2 separate regions of the Homo sapiens genome follow, and region 1 is linked to region 2. Evidence: promoter capture Hi-C in human tissues and cell types (Jung and others, 2019). All regions are on one chromosome and are shown on one strand. Each heading gives the region's core, a stretch centred on a gene start or on the middle of the fragment in contact. The rest is flanking DNA. Distances are from core to core; before and after follow the strand shown. Region 1 overlaps CHRDL2 (chordin like 2). Region 2 holds the start of RNF169 (ring finger protein 169).

Region 1 (4,478 bases), core at 1,512-4,011, 53 kb before region 2:
CCCTCTCTTGGGGCATCGCCTCGTCACCGAGACTTGCTCTCAGCCAAAAAGCTGTCTTCTTCAAGCCCATGTGCACAGCCAGCCACAGCCCTGCCTCTCTTCTTCTTTACTGCCAGCTTTCTTAAAATGCTTGTCTGTTTCCTCACTTCCCAGAAACCGTCTCAGCACCTAAAACTCAGCTCCCACCTCTCAGCTCTCCTGACTGTGCTCCCTGCTGTGGCCATTGGAGCCTCCTTGTTTCCACGAAGGTCTCTTTGCCAGCCTCACCCTGGCCCTCTCAGCACCCTGCTCCCCGACCTATTCCCTGTCCGCCATGCTGACCCTTTGCTGATGCTCTGGGGTCCGTCTTGCTCCCACTCTGTTTACTCCACCATCTCTCCCAGGCCAGTGTCACCCCCTCTCCCAGCTTTAGTTACCACCTACAGGTCAACAGCTCCCAACTCCCTGCCTCTAGCCCAGCTTTCTCTCCAGACCTATTAAACCCAGAGGGCTGTGGATACCTCCTGAGCCTCAGCGTGTGCTCAGCTGAAACTTCTGGCTTCTTCTCCCAGAAGGTATCACCAAGTGAGACACCAGGTACACACTTGCTCCTTGCTCTCCCTCAATCCTGAGTCTAGCCAGTCATCCGTTGTGCCTTGCCCATGACCTCTCTCCTATCCAGGCCAGAGTCATCCTCACGTGGATCCCATAACAGCCACCTCCTACCTGGCCTCAGCCTCACTCTGCCAGGCCATTCTTCACCTGGCCGGTAGAACCAGTGTTCTCAACCACAAATCTGACCAAAGTATTGAAACTCTCCTGGGGCTACCTGCTAGCCTTCAGGATGCAGTCAGAGCTCTTCAGCTAGCTGTGCAGCCTCACCTCCCTTTGCTCGTTGCCTCAAATTATCATCCAGTGACAGTGAGCTATTTGTGGTTCTGCCGTAACTTGCTACTTTTCACCGTCTACCAAGTTTTCTCTTCCTGTACCGTCACCCACCCTCCTCTCTCTCTCCCCCTTTTTTTTTCTACCTCCTGCTCACCTTCCGAGCCTGCTTGAGTGTCGTCAGTCTGGGTTGGGGCTGTGCCCCCTTGGTCCCTGCCCTTAGCACTGGCAACACTGAGGGGCTCGGATGCTGCTCCCTCCTCTATCTCCTCCTCCAGACTTGAGGCTCTAAAAGCACAGGAAGGGCAATTAGCTCCCTGCACTGTGTTGGTGCTCGAGCATAAAGCCCACCCGAGAGCAGCGCCGAAGCTGTTTTATGAATGAATCCATGAAAGAGAAGACAACATGGCAGAGCTGCCTGCAGACTCACATAGCGAGCCCATGTTTACACACACAGAAAGGTCTGGACCAAAGTCAGGAGAGGGCAGTGTGCTGAATGTGTCCCCCTGGTGGAAAAGCGAACCTCAGAGGCATCCCATAAGCCCATCAGAGAAACCAGGAAGGCAATTTGGCCTGCAGCATCAGGAAACGTGTACAGCGAAGTCCACTCCTGTCCGGAGACCCTGGAACTGCCTCTGATGACAGAGCCCTGTTTCCAAACCCCATTTTCCAGGAAAGGAGCCACGGTACAGGGCACAGATGTGTCAGGGAAAGTATCACTGAAGACATCTGAGATAGGCTGAAGGATGACCAGAGTTTATCCTGTGAATGGTTAAGCTTTCAGATTCCTGCACTTTAAATGAGGCAAGCTCAGAACCCATCCCTGGAGCTCCAAGTGAACCCTCTGTGTGAGCAAGCCAGGCCAAAATTGTGAGTCATCTTGAGGAGGGACAGGTAGAGGCTGTGAGGGGAGAAGGTGAATGTCTTCTGACTCAGGGGATGTTGGTAGATTCCAGCCTCAAACCCCAAACTTTCAAATCCAGACCCCTGGGAGCTGGCAGAGGAGTTAGGGGAGGGAGACACTCATCCCTGCTCAATAAGGGTGGCATCAGACTTCCCAAACCTTAGCAGACTTCCCAAACCTTAGTAACCCTAGGTTCAAGATTAGGGCTGTGGAGGCTGGGCTTAGTGGCTCATGCCTGTAATCTCACCACTTTGGGAGGCTGAGGCAGGAGGATTGCTTGAGCCCATTAGTTCTAGACCAGCCTGGGCAATATAGCAAGACCCCATCTCTTAAAAAAAAAAAACAAAAAAGGCCAAGGCTGTGGAGACAATGGCCAGAGCCCTCTGAGTGGCTGCACAAGTCCAGTCAACAGACTACTGTCCACCATTTCTCTGGAGCTTTGATCAGGCTTGGGTGGGGAGGGGATGGAGGAGCCGTGGTTGTGAGAGGATTGAGACTAGCTGTCCTGAGGAGAGAACCCCGCCTGGGGCCGGGAGCCTGAGTTCTAGCCCTGGCTTCAGCATACCACTGTGAGGCTTTGGGGAAGACATGTGGTGGTCCTGAGCCCATCTCCTCCTCTAAAATGTGGGTAGTGCCTACACCTTTCACCTTAAGTGAAATCATTGACATTAAAACATCTTTGAAATTATAAGGATTTGTACATGTGGGCAGGGTAAATAATTGATGGTGTCTTTATTTTATTATTATTATTATTATTATTATTTGAGATGGAGTCTTACTCTGTCACCCAGGCTGGAGTGCAGTGGCACAATCTCGGCTCACTGCAACCTCTGCCTCCTGGGTTCAAGCAATCCTCGTGCCTCAACTTCCCGAGTAGCTGGAATTACAGGTGTGTACCACCATGCCTGGCTAATTTTTTGTATTTTTAGTAGAAATGGGGTTTCACTATGTTGGCCAGGCTGGTCTCGAACTCCTGGCCTCAGACGATCCACCCCCCTCGGCCTCCCAAAGTGCTGGGATTGTAGGCGTCAGCCACCGTGCCTGGCCCTAATGGTGTCTTTAATTGCTAACTGTTGGGCCTTCTCAGAGCATGGTGCCAGGTTAGCAATCTGACCGCCCAGTCTTGGAAATCCTCTGAGGTGAGGCTATCTGGGCTCGTGACACTGGCCACACTGTGGAACTGGGGAAGGAGTGCTAGCCTGGAGCGAGAGATCTGGCTTCCAACTCCAGATCTGCTACTAAGCAGCTCTGCGGCTTTGGGCAAATGACTGCCTGCTGCTCCTCCCTAACTGGGTTTCCTCATTGTAGGGTGTGAAGACAGTGGTGAGGATCCCAGGAATACTTGCTGGGAAAGTGCTTTAAGGCTCCATTAACGCCCTCCCCTGGCTAATTAGAGTCATTCCTCTTTCTGAGGCTCAGTGTCAAAGAGCTGTGGGAGGGGGGCTGCCCGGAAAAGCAGGAGGTGCTGCAGTGGGGGGCCTGGGTGAGGAGGCTGGGGGAGCTAGCCCTGGCTGTGGTGACAACTCACTGTGAGGACTGGGACCATTCTCTATCCCTTCTGGATCTTGGTTTCCACCCCTGTAAAATGGGGATAACCAGGTCTGCCTTGTGGAGTTGCTAGGAGAGCATGCAGGAGACTGGATATGAACCCAGAAGGCAGGGCTGAGGGTAATGCAACTTCTTATTTATTAATATATAATAACAACAATTATACAGCTCATATCTGCAACTGTTAGGTCTTTGTTATGTCTTGGTCACTTTGTCTGGACTGGCCGTGACCTTCAGCTCCAGGGTCTGGGCTAGGAAGACGTTCCAGTGACCTGCATGGAGGAGGGCAGAAGAGGGAAGAGGCGTATGTGTCTGCACGTGCACAACAGAGGCAGCAGCTGGGGGTTGGAAAAGCCTTGGGCCAGGAGGAACTGCAAGGGCCAGGGTTTGGAGCCCACAGGGAGCCTGGAGGCGAGTGTGCCATCACACTGGGTGTGATGGGGCACATGACCCAGCTTTCAAACAACCTTGGGGGACAGAACTGGTTTCCTGACACCTGTTGGTAATACTCCCCTCTGTGACCTCCCCTCCCCGACCTGAAACCCCACCTGGGTCCATCTTCCTAAAAGTAAGGTATAGAAGGAAAGTGGAAACATTCCAGTAGAGAGGGAGTGGGCAGTACCCAGGTTTGGGGGCTCAGACCTCCCCTCTCCACAGCCCTTTCTCCCTCCACCCTCAGAACCAAATCCAGCCAGCTCTGCTTCACCTTCCCGCTCTGGAGTTAGGAAATCTCTGGCGCAGACACCCGCTGGATTCCTGTGCTGGGAACTGACGTCTGTGGCTGACAGCCCCTCCTCCCGGCACCAGCAGCCTGGGAACTCCCCGAAAGGCTCTGGCCCGTGTCCTTGCCTTCTTCCTGCCCCGGCCCCATTCCTCAGCCCAAGCTCCTACCTTCGTGGGGGCCAGCGAGCAGTCGGAAGTGCTGTGCCTCTTTCTGGAAGTCTTGCTTCCTGACTTTCTTGATCTGAGTCAAGTGGAAGATTCCTGAGGGCAGAGACAAGGATGTGAGCAGGCAAGGCAAAAACCTACAGTCGGTGAAAAGTGAAACAGGGTGACTTAGCACAGAACGGACCCAATCACTCCCTCCCCCACCCCATTCTGATCAGACACAAAATCCTGCTGATGACATTTCCTCAATATTTTGAATCCATTCTCCTATCTC
Region 2 (4,664 bases), core at 580-3,079:
ACTGTCCTTTAGCCATCTGGTTCTTATCTTGGGAATCCATCACCTTTTTTTCCCCCTGCTCTCTGAGTTAATCAATCACTCGGCACTGGATTGGTTTACCGCTAGCTCTGGGCAATCTCATCAAAACCCAGGGCTTCTCATGCCTTCTATTATATTATGTTGATTTTTTTTTTTGAGACAATGTCTCATTCTGTTGTCCAGGTTGGAATGCAGTGGTGCCATCACGGCTCACTGCAGCCTTAACCTCATGGACTCCAGTGATCTTCCTGCCTCAGCCTCCTGAGTACAGGTGAGTGCCACCATGCCCAGCTAATTTCTGTATTTTTTGTAGAGATGGGGTTTCACCATGTTGCCCAGGCTGGTCTTTAACTCCTGAGCTCAAGCGATCTGCCTGCCTCATCCTCCCAAAGTGCAGGCGTGAGCCACCGCCCCCAGCCTATGTTGCTTTTTTATTTTTCTCTCTTTACAAAACTCGTGTTATCCTATAAAGGTTTCCACTAAGAAATGCCATTTATTTAATGCTTCCCATTCTTTGCCCTGCTCCAAATCTATCCCAGGGCAAAGAAAGCAAAGAATGGGAGAACTACTGTAGCAGAACCACCTTTCCATTAGAGAGGGGTCATTCTTTCTCCTGGAACCTCTGCATCTAGAAAGGGCACTAGCATCAAAGTCCAAGCACCTCTCCCTAGCTCAAGCAGGAGTGACACGGTCAGAGCTGGCCTATAGGAAGCAACTCGAAGAGTGTGGAGGATGGATTAGAAAAGAGGTTGGGAGAGGGGAGACAATCAATCTATAGCAGCTACTGCAGTAATCTAGATGAGAGATGATTAGACCTGAATTGGGCAGTGGGAATGGGATGAAGAGGTGGGGAAATAGTCATTTTGATAGTGGAATTGACAGGACTAAATAACTGATGGTTTGTGGGAGATAAGGAAGAAGTTCAAGATGACTAGGTTTGGAGCTTGAGTACCTGGGAGGATGGGACCTTTCATAGAATGAAGGAAATAAGAAGAGCAGTTTTGAAAGGAGGATGGGAGACAGTGACATTAGTTTTGTACATGAGGAATGTAGGGATCTAAGAGGATGTTTCCATCAGGCAGTTGAATATGGAGGGCTGGACTCAGGAGGCCTGGGCTGCAGACAGCAATCTGGGAGCTCCTGAGGGAAGAAAATGTGGACCAGTGCAGCACGCAGAGTGAGAAGGGGACTGAGGCCTAAGCCTAGAGGAACACCCACATGGAAGCACCAAACACGGGAGACTGAGAAGGAGCCAAGAGCCTGGGAAAAAAACCAGGAAAGTGTGGTTTTACCAGCCAAGGGGGGCAGTTTCAGGAAGGGACATGGGGAGAGAGGATGAGGAGGTAGGATTGACAAGAGGCTGCTCCTTTTGGCAGTTAGTTACCACGGTGGGCCTGGTTTCAGTCACAAAGCTACCCCCATCCTTAGGAGAGAGCTCAGGCCCTCATATCAAATGAACACTAAGGCAGGTTTCTGAGTAACTCACATATTCCCCACTCACTTTCTCCTCAGTTATCAAGGCATTACAGGATAAGTACGTGTATCAAAGTTTAACATCGTTCAGAATTGCCAGTAAAGCCCCTCAGTTCCCACCTCTTTCAGTTCAGTAAGAGGAAACTGCAAGGACTTTTCGAGAGTGCGGCTGATGACCGCATAATAAAGAATAACTAATAAATATTAATGAAGTATCCCCTCTGGCCAATCAGGTCTGAGGAGAACCCTCTTTGGGCTCACAGAAGCCTCGCCCCTCATGAATATGTAGATAGCACTGCCCACCGCGCGTACTGCCCCGCCCTCCACTCTTCTCCCTCGCAACCGACTCTCCCTTCAAACGGGAAACAAGATGGCGGCTGCAGGTCCGAGTACTCGGGCCTCTTCCGCGGCGGCAGCAGCCGCTCTGAGTCGGCGGGGCCGGCGGGGCCGCTGTGACGAGACGGCGGCAGCTAAGACTGGGGCCCCAGGCCCGGCTTCTGGACCTTCGCTGTTGGTGTTGTCGCCGCCGTTGCTGCAGCCGCCGCTGCCGCCGCGGCCGGAGGAATCGGGCTGCGCCGGGTGCCTGGAGCCCCCCGGAGAAGCAGCGGCCCTGCCGTGCGGCCACTCGCTTTGCCGAGGCTGCGCCCAACGCGCCGCCGACGCGGCGGGCCCGGGTTGCCCTCGCTGCCGCGCCCGCGGCCCAGGCTGGGCCCGCCGTCGGGCCCGCGACGACGGCCAGGCCGACTCAGAGGTGCTGGGCGAGTGCGCCCGCCGCAGCCAACCCGAGCGCTGCCGCCCGCGCCGGGACGGGGGCGCGGCTGCCGCGGGGCCCAGGCCAGAGCAGGAGCCGCGTGCCGCGCCTGCGGAGCCAGGTGGAGCTTCCCCACTTCCCCTTAGGGTCTGGAGCGAGGCCGAGCGCGCCCCGGCCCGGCCTGGTGAGGGGGTGGAGAGTCCCGGGCCCTACTCGGGCGGGTGTGGAGAGTTCTCGTGGGATTAGAACCCGGGCTCTACCCAGGTGCAGTGTGTTTGTGAATTTTGAACTTCAGAGTGAAGGACAGGCACGTTGCATGCGGAGGGGCGGTGAGGGCACCCTGTGCCTTACGTAAGTCCGAAGTTTGGAGGGAAACAGAATTGTTGGAACAAGTTAGGGGCAGGTTGGAATTGGTGTGTGGGAGTGGGAGGGGCCTTGGATCAGAGAAGTGCTTGGTTTAATGTTGGATGAAGAGTTTGGGGGTCATATTGCTTGGAGAGATGTGGCTCCTGGCCTTGAAAGGGTCAGTGAAGGGTGTGGAGAATCCGGAGTTTAGGGAACAGGTTGAATTTGAGGATGTGAAGGGAGCTTTTCAGACTCGAGAGCAGAGGGGGTTGGGAGCACACTTGTGCAGTTGTTTTCATACATTTTGGAAAATGTATGCTTAGCACAGAACTTGGCACATAGTGAGGAAGCAGTAAGTGACTGTCGTTTATATTTGTAATACTAGTACTACTAAGTCCAGTAGTGCCTGACAGAAAAGCTGGCTTGGGTTTAAAAGTTTTGGAAACAAAGGTTGGGTGGCAGGGGCTGCTTCTATCTCCTTGGCAGTATGGGTTTCCTACTGGCTTGCTGGCAATTAAAAGTCTGTTGTAGGACTCTTGCCTTGAACTTCTTTCCCCTAACACCAGCAGCCTGCTATTCCTCGGTTCTGAGCTTTGAAATGCAAAGTGCCCTGTATAAAATAAGACTGTTATAACTTAGGATTCTTTTGGGGACACACCCAGTCAACATAACATCTGCAGCTCTGTTTGATAAAAAATGCTTACCTAGAATGAGATTTTCAAGAAACATAAATCACGAAAGGCCAGATATTTGTACCTTCTGTTTTGGGAATTCTGCCATGTGTTTTTTTGGGTAAGGAAAGAGAGGCATTGCTTGTGTATACAAGTGCAGCTTCTAGAAACCACAGGTTCTAGAATGCACTCTGTTTTGATTCAAGCCGCCAGAGACACCTGTCACTGTCCTAGGATATTGGGCTATTTTATTCCTGGGGTTGAGGGGGACCTGCATCTTACTTTCTATGTTCCTTGTCACTCCCCTCACCTTTTTTTTTTTTTTTTTTTTTTTTTTTGAGATGGAGTCTCGCACTGTCGCCCGGGCTGGAGTGTAATGGTGCGATCTCCACTCACTGCAGCCTCTGTGCACCACCCCTTCAGGTTCAAGCGATTCTCCTGCCGCAGCCTCCCGAGTAGCTGGGATTACAGGCGCCCACCACCACGCCCGGCTTTTTTGTATTTTTAGTACAGATGAGGTTTCACTGTGTTGGCCAGGCTGGTCTTGAACTCCTGACCTTGTGATCCGCCCGCCTTGGCCTCCCAAGGTTTTTTTTTTTTTTTTTTTTTTTTTTGAGACTGAGTCTCACTCTGTCTCCCAGGCTGGAGTGCAGTGGCCAATCTCTCAGCTGACTGCAACCTCTGCCTCCCAGGTTCAAGCGATTCTCCTGCCTCCGCCCAGTAGCTGGGACCACAGGCACGCGCCACCACACCCTGCTAATTTTTGTAATTTTAGTAGAGACGGGGTTTCGCCATGTTGGCCAGACTGGTTTCGAACCCCTGGCGTCAAGTGATCCGCCCACCTCTGCCTCCTGAAGTGTTGGGATTACAGGCGTGAGCCACTGTGCTCAGCCCTCGTTATTCCTTTTAAGCTTCACAACATCCCTATGAGATAAGTACTTTTATTTCCATTTTATAGATGAAACTGAGGTCCAGAGAGGTTAACTAACTTGCCTAAGGATGAAAACCCGATTCTATCCTATTCCTGCTCAAATCAGGGATGAAACGTCTTTAATTTTGTGGATGTGGTGTGATGGTTTCATATGCTACTTAATTTGCTTTATAGTCTGAGATTATGGTCACGATATAAGACAGTATTTCTCTGGTCTCCCTATTAGTACTACTGATTATATGGCCACATAGGATAGAAATTTTCATTTTGATTTCTAAGCTTGGAGACTGTTGTGAAATACCAGTTCTGAATTTGAACCATGAGAGGAAGTTTGGCTTGATGATTTGTGCAAACTTTTTCCCTTGAAGATGTTTTTGTCATAAAATTTATCAGTGATTAAGGGAAATTATCTAAAATGAGATTTCAAATTAGAATCTATTGAGTCACTTAGTATTCATTAATTACTTTATATGTT

The links. Contacts are between HindIII fragments. The study calls those that stand out against the background at their distance.
Region 1: a fragment that was not itself captured here is called in contact with the fragment with the promoter of RNF169 in region 2 in 1 of the 25 tissues and cell types used here (H1 embryonic stem cells).

Annotation. Positions count from the first base shown.
Region 1 is chr11:74,692,998-74,697,475 of GRCh38, forward strand. It overlaps CHRDL2 (chordin like 2), which reads right to left. Exons shown (of 11, transcript NM_001278473.3): 10 at 4,208-4,300; 11 at 3,432-3,588. The coding sequence ends at 3,512. Among named protein-coding and RNA genes, the nearest start is that of MIR4696, 25 kb to the right of the region's middle. RefSeq lists an enhancer at 3,627-4,478. The HindIII fragment of the contact is 8,297 bases long and covers 1-4,478 here.
Region 2 is chr11:74,747,020-74,751,683 of GRCh38, forward strand. RNF169 (ring finger protein 169) reads left to right here and starts at 1,830. Exons shown (of 6, transcript NM_001098638.2): 1 at 1,830-2,363. The coding sequence starts at 1,862. RefSeq lists silencers at 1,661-1,881, 2,055-2,204, 2,235-2,494, 2,505-2,604 and enhancers at 1,855-1,944, 2,094-2,687. The HindIII fragment of the contact is 10,658 bases long and covers 1-4,664 here.